Linked DNA regions of Homo sapiens: all the other regions are linked to region 2. Evidence: promoter capture Hi-C in 16 types of primary human blood cells and fetal thymus (Javierre and others, 2016). All regions are on one chromosome and are shown on one strand. Each heading gives the region's core, a stretch centred on a gene start or on the middle of the fragment in contact. The rest is flanking DNA. Distances are from core to core; before and after follow the strand shown.

Region 1 (3,709 bases), core at 555-3,054, 470 kb before region 2:
GTATGCTAGGGTAAGACCCCTTTGCTAAACCAAAACCTAGCTGGCAACTTGCTTCCTTTCTTTCACACAGAGGGCACAGATCCCTCTGCCAAAAGATTTCCCAGACACTACCTGATTTCTGCCCATTCTGTCTGTACTCCTCAGGCAAAGGCTGAGTTTCTTGTTAATCTCTTCCCTTTACCCTGATCAATCTCGCTTCTCATTCATTATAGCTGTCTATCACTTCTTCCTCATTTCTAATGAAATCCATTTGAAGACATAAAATATAATGTACCTGCCTCTTGAAAGCGACTTGTAATTGGACCTTCAGCTTTCTTGGATTTGCAATGTTCCCAACTTGGGATATTAGTCATAAACATGCTGAGTGGTTTTGTTCTCTGGCACGGATACTATTTTGTCTCTTAGAGACTTATCCATTGACTTTACCCTGTCCATGTATACCAAGCACATCTAATGAGTCCTAGTCCCTTGTTTTATCTAGTTGGTAGCTCTCCAACTATTTTGAAAGCTTTTTGTAGCATATCAAATTCACCATGCCAAACACCTCACCTCAGTTCTTCATTTAGCGAGTAGAAACGGTGGTATGCAGCAGTTAGGAAGCTTCACCCTTGTCTGTAAGTGCCTCTTGCTTTTCACTCATGATATCTCCCTCCCCCTAGAGATAACATTATTGGTCACTTTGCCTTTTCACACTATAGATCCAGTGATTTTTAAACCAGCTCGAGTTAACAGTACTGTTTGCCTTGCTGGGTGGTGTTGTTGTTGGTTAAATTAAGTGGGCTGCCTTTACCCCCAACTCAGCATGATCCGGCTCCATGAGCTTGGAACTTAAAACATGGACAGAACTTAAACACACCTGTATTTTAAAACTTGACTTTTTTTCTAGAGAACATTCAGGGTCTTTTCCAAACCCCCTGCTCTGAGGCATTGTTCTTGGAATTTTTCTGCCATGCAAAGAAGCTACTTTAGTAGAATATTCTGTATCTATGGGGAAGGGGAGGCAATAGTGGTTGAATCTAGATCACCTGGAAACCCATAATTCATACTATCATATGATCAACACAACCAAATTCCATTGCTGTGGAAACAATAGAAGTGTGTGAACAGAACACAAAAGAAAAATATGGAGCAGGAACAGGAAAGGTGCAACGCCTTGATTCTGGGTTAATTACATTCTTAGATGGCACTGGATGATTACAGGAAAAAGATGAGGGTAGCAACTCCAGAGCTTAGTGACTTAGAATGCTACCCACAGGGCTGGTCATGGTGGCTCATGCTTGTAATCTCAGCACTTTGGGAGGCTGAGGCGGGTGGATCACGAGGTCAGGAGTTTGAGACCAGCCTGGCCAATATGGTGAAACCCCATCTCTACTAAAAAATATACAAAAATTAGCTATGCATGGTGATGCGCGCCTGTATTCCCAGCTACTCAGGAGGCTGAGGCAGGAGAATCACTTGAACCCAGGAGGTGGAGGTTGCTGTGAGCCGAGATCGCGCCACTGCACTCCAGCCTGGGGGACAGAGTGAGACTCTGTCTCAAAAAAAAAAAAAAAAAAAAAGAATACCACCCACAGGAGAAAACCACTTGTTCTGAGTGACTGTTCCAAACGGTAGAGAAAAAAAGCCTGAGTGATGTGCTTATATGTTTTCATCCTCAGTGGTGACCCAGACTCAAGAGGCAAGTTCAAGTTGTGTGAGCTTCTGGATGTAATCTTGGAAGACCCTCTGGTCTTTTTTAACCCAACTAATTTATTACGGCTTTTCTAGAATGCATGTGATTTAATTCTATCTCTTGCAAAGAAAAAGCAAAGCATTTTTATCTCTTTTCTTCAGCATTTAATGGAACAAAGTTCTCCAGGATTTAGGCAAACTCACCTACAAGATTTATCAGAAGCCACTCAAGATGTGAAGGAAGAGAATCATTATCTTACTCCTCGAAGTGTTCTTTTAGAGGTAACCCCTTCTTGTCCATTCATCATTTGTTTCTTTAACAAATATTTACTGAAACCCTGCCATGCACTTTTCGTGCAATATTAGGCTATGGTCAGTGGGAACACAGAAGTAAATCAAATACAGATGACGTGCTCATGGTGCTGACACTTGACTAGGAGACAGCTGTAATACAAGACAGAGGGTTCTATGCTGAAGAGAGATGCTTATAAAATACCAGGGGTGCATGAGCTATGGGAGGAGGAGATGACTTTCAAACAAAAGATCAGGAAGATTTCAGGGACGAGATGACATTAGGCCATACATGATGAGTAAAATTTGGATGTGGGGGATTGCCTTGAGGAGTCTTTCTGCATTCTTAGCAGAAAGAATAATATGAGCCAAGGTCCTTGGGTGATCAGTTGTGTGCTGTGTATCGATCAGTCTATTGATCAGTAGGAAGCCCTTACTGAATGCCTTCTGAGCACTAGTCACTGTACTGTACTGGGCATGGTGGCTAAAGTAATGAGCCTGACATCACCCTGCTGTCAGAGTGCATAGTCTTGTCAGTTACCACAGGATAACGCTGCACAAAAGACGTGGTCCGTGTGCTCTGGAAGCAATAGAAAAAGAACAGATTTTCTCTATCAGAGTCAAGGAAGGCTTCTGGGATGAAGTGCCATTTGATACATGTATGGGGAATAGTTCAGTGAGGCTGCAACCTAGAGTGCGTGAAAGGCATAGTGGGAGATAAACAGAAGAAAAGGGCCAGCCCATGATGGGTCTTGAATGCCAAGTTGACTTCATTCTGTAGACAGCATAGGGGAAGCGATGGCTTCTGAGTTGGGAAATCTCAAAACCTGAATTATCCTCCATTAGTATTAACTGAGCAGCTATATCTGCCATGGACTATAGAGAGAAGAGAATGGAAGTGAGAGATAGGAAGACAGAATGGAGGGTGGGAATGCTGCGTCATTTCCCAAACTGGGGGTTTTCCGTAAGATGGTGACGTATGTTTATATAAAAGAAACATTCTGGGGTCAAATAAGTTCCGGAAACACCCAGTTAAAATAAGTTAAACAAGCTTCTTAGCAGAATTCTCAGAGCATTTAGTATGCAGTGGTGCATTGTAAATAGTCAAGTCAGATACAACACATGGCATTTCCCAAGCTCCTTTGAGCACAGAGTTCTTCTTTCACCAAAATATTTTCATATTTCTGTTTCCTGGGATGCAGTCTTTTATGATAGTTCAGCCAACCAATCAGATGTGTACTGAGCATCAGTTATAGGCCTGGCCTTTGCTAGGTACTTTATGATAAGTAAAGTCTAGTAAAGCAGACAAAACAGCTAAAAAGACCAAAGATAAATAAATAAATAAATAAGTAAAAAAACTATGCAATGGAAATTGAGAGAAAGGAGAGCTCTGCCGTAGCTGAGGTGATCAGAGTGGGCTGTGGGACTTCAGCCAGGCCTGAACATGATTTCAGTAGGCCGAAAGGAAAGATGGCACTCGAGGTGAAGAAGAGAGCACGAACATGGCGATGGAACAGCACCATTTGCAGGGGGCCAATGGGAAGACTGGCTTGACTGGAAGGAAGGTTTCCATCATGGGTTAACGGTGAACTTAGGTAGGCCTTAGGGTTTTTGAGCAATCATTGCCACAAGTGACTCTCTTTGTTCTAAGGGGGCTATGGAGAGCTTCCTAAGGGCAGTATTTTTCTAGAACATTGCAATGTCCCTGAAGCCACTTGGGCTGCCTGTGAGCATAGTAACCTGAGAC
Region 2 (3,548 bases), core at 983-3,482:
CCTGGGAAGCAAGAAGCTTACATGCCCCTTAGAATGATTGTAATTCATAATAACTTTATTTTTTAAATCCTTGTAAATCTTCACAAAGGAAGGGATGTCATGGATGACAAAAGTAGCTACCCAGCTTTCTGCATAAAAAGCCTCCACCCCTGCTGGTCACCCACTCAGCACTCAGCACTCACCAGGGCCTGCACCACCTGCCTTCCCTCCTGCCCAAGTGCACACCCCGGACAGACTGATTATACATTGATGTGAAGAAGTCTGAAGCAACAGGTATCTTCACTGTATTTATGCTTTCAGTTCTTCATAATCACAGAATGAAAATGTGAAATACCTCCCCCCCCCCCGCCCCCAATTAAAGACATGCCAAATACTTCAGGAACAACCAGGATTGAAATTTGGCTTCTCCAAGGTAAGCCTGATAAGGTCAAAGTATGCTGGTACCTGTTAAACAGCATAAGGGGTACAGGGAGAGGGTTGTCAAAGGTAGAATTTCCACTTTCTTGAGGACCTGGGGTCTGCCCTTGTTGGACATCTCTGGAGCAGCACAGGCCACTCACCCCATTTGACTATACAGCACTTAAAAATGTGGCGAGTCCAAATTGAGATGTGCTTGTGAGTATAGAATACAACAGGATTGGCCAGGCGTGGTGGCTCACGCCTATGATCCCAGCATTTTGGGAGGCTGAGGCGGGTGGATTACCTGAGGTCAGGAGTTTGAGACCAGCCTGGCCAACATGGCAAAACCCTGTCTTTACTAAAAATACAAAAATTAGCCGGGCATGGTGGTGTGCACCTGTGATCCCAGCTACTCGGGAGGCTGAGGCAGGAGAACCATTTGAACCTGGGAGGCAGAGGTTGCAGTGAGCCAAGATCATGCCATTGCACTCCAGCCTGGGCAACAGAGTGAGACTCTGTCTCAAACAAAAAAAAAAAAAAAAAAAACAAAAAAACAGGACTTTGAAGACAGCATAAAACATCTTTATTGATTACATGTTGAGATAATGTTCCGGATGTTTAGGTTAATACTGAAATCCAGCTTGCTGTTTCTTTTCACTTTTTATTAAATGTGACCACTAGAACATTTAAAATTACACACGTGGCTTGGTCAGTATTTCTCTGGGGCAATGCTGATCTAGAGGCAGAGACCATCCCTCCCCAGCAGTTAGACCTCAAGACTAACTGCTGTCCCCTGTGGGGATGATGTGGTGGTACATTATGTCTGCTGCTCTGGTGTGGCCCTGTTTTTATTTTTGGGTGCTCAGTAAATGTTACTGGGAGAAATGAATTACAGGAAAAATGAGTCCTTTCCTAGCCTCCTTCAATGAGGTTTGCAACATTAAAGTCACCACGGGCCACTTTCACTGGAAGCTGTCAGTGTCGGAGGTTTGGAAATTAACTGAGAACTACAGACAGGAAAGGTGTAAAGCAAATTATTTTCCTATCAGATTGACATTTACAAGAATAATGGGAAGGAGCATGGAAAAGAGGAAGCAGGTCAACCTTCCTTGAGGACAATTAGATAATAGGCATCAAAAGTCTTAAGTTGTATAAAACCTGTATCCTAGAAATTTACCTTTTCGTAGTTTATTCTAAGGAATTAATTGGACAAAAGCACAAAGACATCTAATTGTATTATTAAAATGGAAAGTTTAATATTCAACAATAGCAGATAGGTTAAGTACATTAGGACATTATGAAGTGGCTTAAAACGGACATTCAAAAAAAGGAAATGGAAAACCTGAGTAATGTACAGCTTGTATGGAATGAACTAAAAATATATAAATTTTTGCATAGGTAGAATGACATTGGAAGAACATACACCACAATGTTAACTGATTATCTCTGGGTGTTGGAAAATGATTGATTTATCAACTTTTTTACTGTTATTTCTTTTCTTTTTTTTTTTTTTGCAATGAACAGGCATGCTCTGGCAGTTTTTAAATGAAGTATGGAAATTATGGATTGTGCAGTCATAGTCAACGTTCATTGAGAGCTTACTTTATATAAAGCATCATGCTCAGCATTGTGCTTTGTGGCATTTGATTTTTTAAAAATCAAACGCCCTCCAATCTTAAGCAAGGATGATGGCCAAAAGGTCGGCTTATTACCCAACTGCAACAATAGGAGGGACAGGTAATTAAAAGGCAATTGCCATGACAAATAGAAAAGATGCCAAAGTCAACATTTTTTCAAGGAGCTATAAAGCCCGTGGAGGAGTCAGCTGACGGCACAGTGTTCGCGGCTGCACCGCTCGGAGGCTGGGTGACCCGCGTAGAAGTGAAGTACTTTTTTATTTGCAGACCTGGGCCGATGCCGCTTTAAAAAACGCGAGGGGCTCTATGCACCTCCCTGGCGGTAGTTCCTCCGACCTCAGCCGGGTCGGGTCGTGCCGCCCTCTCCCAGGAGAGACAAACAGGTGTCCCACGTGGCAGCCGCGCCCCGGGCGCCCCTCCTGTGATCCCGTAGCGCCCCCTGGCCCGAGCCGCGCCCGGGTCTGTGAGTAGAGCCGCCCGGGCACCGAGCGCTGGTCGCCGCTCTCCTTCCGGTGAGTCCCAGCCCCGAGTTGGCTCTGGCGCCCGGGTACCCGCCAGTGCCGGCTGCCGATGACCGATTCACGCTCCCGGTACTGGGGCCCCCTCTGCCCAGCCACCCCTACCCAGAGCACCCGGGCTGCGCGGCCCCGCCGAGGGTGCGGGCTTTGTTCGCATTGTCTGCGCGCACCTGAGCGCGGCCTTCCTGGCACGGCGGCGTCGGGGGAAGAGCGCACCTGGCGCGCGCCTCCCTCGTGGCCACTCGCGGTCCGTCCCGGGCGAGCTGGCGGGGTTTTGGGAGGGGTGCGGTCAGCAGGTAAGTGGGTAGGGGCTCCGGGTACAGGGGTGGAGGAGGGCATGTATTAAACCCAAGCTGCCCTCCTGGCACAGTAGCGGGGCCCCCTTCCCTGGCGGCCGCGGAAAGGGACTCGCCCTTTGAATAAAGGCTTTGGTGACATGCTCGCTTCCACCCCACACCCCACTACAGGACATACACAGGTGTTAAGGGGACTTGGGGCAGTTTTCCCAGGCAGAACGAGTGCCCCCAGCGAAGTGTCTGCAAGCAGAACCTGAGAGGGGCCGGCTGCCCCGAGAGTCCTCGCGCTTGGGCAGTGGGAAGTCCAGGGGTTTGTCGTTCTGGTGACTTCCCCCACCTGGCTCAGCCCTGCTTCCTGCATGTCTCCTTCCCTTCCAATAAGGCTAACAAAACTTTCCCTAGCTAAGCCGACCTTTCCCTCCCGCCTTGGGCCCTTGGCCACCTGCTGGGACGGTGAATGGGAGAGTCTCAGAATTGAACCTTGAAAACTTGCTGGGGGCACCAGACAGAAGAGAAGGGAGGAGGGCACCTTGCTGCTTGTGATTGTGGAATCAAGGGCTCCAGCTGAAGCTGAAAGGGGACTTAGCAATGGGGACCTCATGCCATGTGTTTGATGTCTTGGAGATTGGAATAATTAGAACGTGTACATTTTTCAAATTACAAGCTGCTTTAAGTAAAACCCCAGAACCTCTAAGTGT
Region 3 (3,301 bases), core at 736-3,235, 490 kb before region 2:
CTTGGCAGCATGTGAGGTGGCTGCCCCCCACCCACCCAAACCTTGTCTCTACTGCTAGACGCCACACACTCCTGGTTTTTCACATGCTCCTCTGAATGCTTCTTGTTAATCTCCTCTGCTGGCTTCTTCCCATCCTACCCCACCCCAGCCCCCCTGCTCCCTCCATGCTGTGCCATGGTCTGGACAAGTAACCATATATCTTGACTACGGCCACTACCCCTATAGTGTAGGTTTATCTCATGACTTCAGCTTTCATCAAAATTGGGTAATACTTCTCCCTCCTTTCATCCCTGCAAGCCTAGAGGAGGTGAAGTCTTCCCACTCTTGCTACACCACCATCCCACCACCATTTCTTGCTGCTCCTTTAACCCTGCCTCCACCTCTGCAGACAGACCCTGCAATAACTCTCTTCAATAAATCCTTTGAGCATGCTGTTTCCTGCTGGGACCCTGACTGACACATTATTTCTGTACAGATTTATCTGCCATATTAGTTTATAAGGTCCCTAAGAGCAAAGTCTATGTTTAATTCTTTTTTCAAAATTCCCAACTGTGCCTGTTATGCAAGTGGTACCAATAAATGCTGAAAGGAAATATTCTTTCTTATTAACTGCCTTCAACTTAAATAGAAGGTGAAAGGAATGAAAACGTTTTAAAAATATATACATCTCTTGGAACAATAAACGTTTAGAAGTTGAGTTCAGAAGAATAAAAAACTTTAGAAGAATAAAACACGATGCTAAGTGGGATGTGTGGTCTGATTTCATGGGCTTTACCTGATTCTTCAAATTCATGATTCATACAGAATCCATATGGAATATGTTCTTTCTTCTCCAGGTCCCAGAAATGAAATAGGGTTGCTTCTGTTATGATAGCAGTTGAAGTGCCAAAAAAAAAAAAAAAAAATTGGGCTGCTCCTAGATCCAGAGCAGCAGGGAAGCTCTATCACTGACCAACAGGAGTTCTAGGAAACATAGGGTTCCAGGGTTACACCACACCCTACAGATGTGATGGGCTGGTGGGAAAGAGGCCACTGCACAGGACCATCAATTTGGGGGTTTCCTTCCTACTCCACTTTTTCTTCGACTGCACTGCCACCCCTTCCTTACCAACACTGACCCTTTTGGCCCAGTGCCAAGCAAGTTGGACCTACTAAGATTCAGGGCCATAATGGGAAAGAAAGGAAAGAAAAAAGAGGAAGAACTCATCATCCCTCCCTCTGCCCCAGTGGTGGTCTCATTGGCTGACTCCCAGTCCGAAATCTTTGGGCCATCCTCTATCACCTGTATACATTCCCTAATCCCCAGAAACTGGACCCAGGTGTTCTCTTTAAATAAGGAAGATTCTGACTTCAATCTTCTGTGGATCTCGAAGTCCTCTTTTGGCATCTACATCTGCTTTTGCTCTAACAAATGAATCTAAATACAAAAATAGACACTGGTATGTGTGTGTATTGGGGGAAGCAGGTAGAGTTAATTACCTTTATTCCGTTTCTCATGTTTTTAAAATGTTTAGAGAACTTTAAAAGGACTTTGCTCCATCAACTGGACAACCATGTGGATGGCCAAACACTTTAGCCCCTCAGTTCCTTGACCTCCTCGTCACCAATGACCTTCTACGCTACATAGCTAAGCTACCTGCGCCTTGCAATTTCTCTATTTTAAGATCGATCAAGCATATTCTCTCCAAGCACTACTTCCTATCCTTCAGTCAGCTTGTACCATCTGTCTTTGACGGCACATCTCACCAGGAATCACTACCCAGGATGCCCGTCCCCAAGAATCTCCTCCTATCTCCTTTATCTCTTTATCTCCTTAGTTATTTCCTCCTTATGACCCTCTGATTCCATGAGTCAACATTTTGAGCATTCTTCAGCAAGTATGCTAAACTCCCTTGCTGCCTTCCTTCTGTGGCATTTTCCTAGCAAAAATGCTAAGCTGAAATGAACCCCAGGCCCTGGCTCCCCCATGCCTGCTCCTGAACAGCTGAAGGCCACTGGAGGAAATCACACATCAGGACTCTTGCCAAATTTACGGTCACCAACCTCAATGGACCCACACTATTTCCAGCATTGAGAAATACTTGCAAAGTAAGGAAATACAGTATCTAAGGAAGGAACTCTGGGGACTCCAAAAAGTAAAGATTGCATGCTGGTAGAAAACCCAGCAAACAAAACAAAGAAATAGATCAGTATAGTGAGAACCAAGTGAGAGAGTAACTTGGAAGCAAAGAGAAGAGAAAATTTCAGCAAGGGTTGGCTCGCTGCCATTGCCTCTTCTGAGCAAAGTTCTTTGTGTCAGGCCTCTCCCTGGGTCAAAAGCCAGCCAATAGAGGGGCAGTCCTAGGGTAAGGTGCTCACCCTGATCCCATCAGTAGTTATTCTTGTGCAAAGTTCAACCCAGCTTATTTCCTTTTGCAGGCAGTTGAGAGAGTGGCAGTTTCAGCTGCTAATGGACACTGATCTCAGCAGACATACTGAAAGAACGAGGAAGGGTCCAGAATCTTGAGGTCTTGGAGAGGCTGAAGTGAAGAAATGTAAAGCATAGAAGGAAGGGAGATTGCAGTTGGAAAGTGGAGCACCCCAGTCAAAGTTATCGAAGTTCATGCAAGAATGGGTAGTTCCAAGGTCCAGAGTGTAATCATAAGAATTGAACAATGAGAACACTTGGACACAGGGTGGGGAACATCACACACCAGGGCCTGTCGTGGGGTGGGGGGAGGGGGGAGGGATAGCATTAGGAGAAATACCTAATGTAAATGATGAGTTAACAGGTGCAGCACACCAACATGGCACATGCATACATATGTAACAAAACTGCACATTGTGCACATGTACCCTAGAACTTAAAGTATAAAAAAATGAAATTAAATTTAAAAAGTGAGGTACAACAGTGAAGTAGGAGGGATTACCAATGGAGTATTAAAGTTAGTTTTCTCTGGATCTCCCTGGTCAAATTATGAGCTCTCAAAAAACACTAATCTTTCCATTTTTCTATTATCTATAACATCTGGCATATAGTAGGCACACTGTAAATAAATAAAGAATGGATAGGCATTTAAGCTAGCTACTGGGGATACACTGGTCAGAAGAAACAGACACAGTACTAATGGATTATACAGTCTTGTGGAGGAAGAGACAGACATTAACCAAATAATCAGACAAATGCATCTAAAATTACAAATGGCAAAATGTGTACTGAGGTTAACATTGCACCATGATAATGTGTCATAAAGAATCTGGCCTTGTCTGGGGAGAGAAGGAATCACTGAGAAGTGATGTTGGAGTGAGAGCTGAAGGATGT

Evidence for each region. Contacts are between HindIII fragments. The CHiCAGO score rates a contact against its expected background, and 5 or more counts as called.
Region 1: a fragment that was not itself captured here is called in contact with the fragment with the promoter of VWA2 in region 2 in 4 of 17 cell types (erythroblasts, naive B cells, total B cells and 1 more); the score reaches 6.3 in erythroblasts.
Region 3: a fragment that was not itself captured here is called in contact with the fragment with the promoter of VWA2 in region 2 in 2 of 17 cell types (monocytes and neutrophils); the score reaches 5.6 in monocytes.

The regions. Positions count from the first base shown.
Region 1 is chr10:113,770,137-113,773,845 of GRCh38, forward strand. PLEKHS1 (pleckstrin homology domain containing S1) reads left to right here. Exons shown (of 13, transcript NM_001395068.1): 8 at 1,834-1,953. Among named protein-coding and RNA genes, the nearest start is that of MIR4483, 6.1 kb to the right of the region's middle. RefSeq lists an enhancer at 2,478-3,677. The HindIII fragment of the contact is 2,413 bases long and covers 599-3,011 here.
Region 2 is chr10:114,237,022-114,240,569 of GRCh38, forward strand. It overlaps VWA2 (von Willebrand factor A domain containing 2), which reads left to right and starts at 2,233. Exons shown (of 14, transcript NM_001272046.2): 1 at 2,233-2,548. RefSeq lists an enhancer at 2,144-2,852. The HindIII fragment of the contact is 4,541 bases long and covers 15-3,548 here.
Region 3 is chr10:113,744,445-113,747,745 of GRCh38, forward strand. No RefSeq gene overlaps it. Among named protein-coding and RNA genes, the nearest start is that of PLEKHS1, 5.6 kb to the right of the region's middle. The HindIII fragment of the contact is 7,286 bases long and covers 1-3,301 here.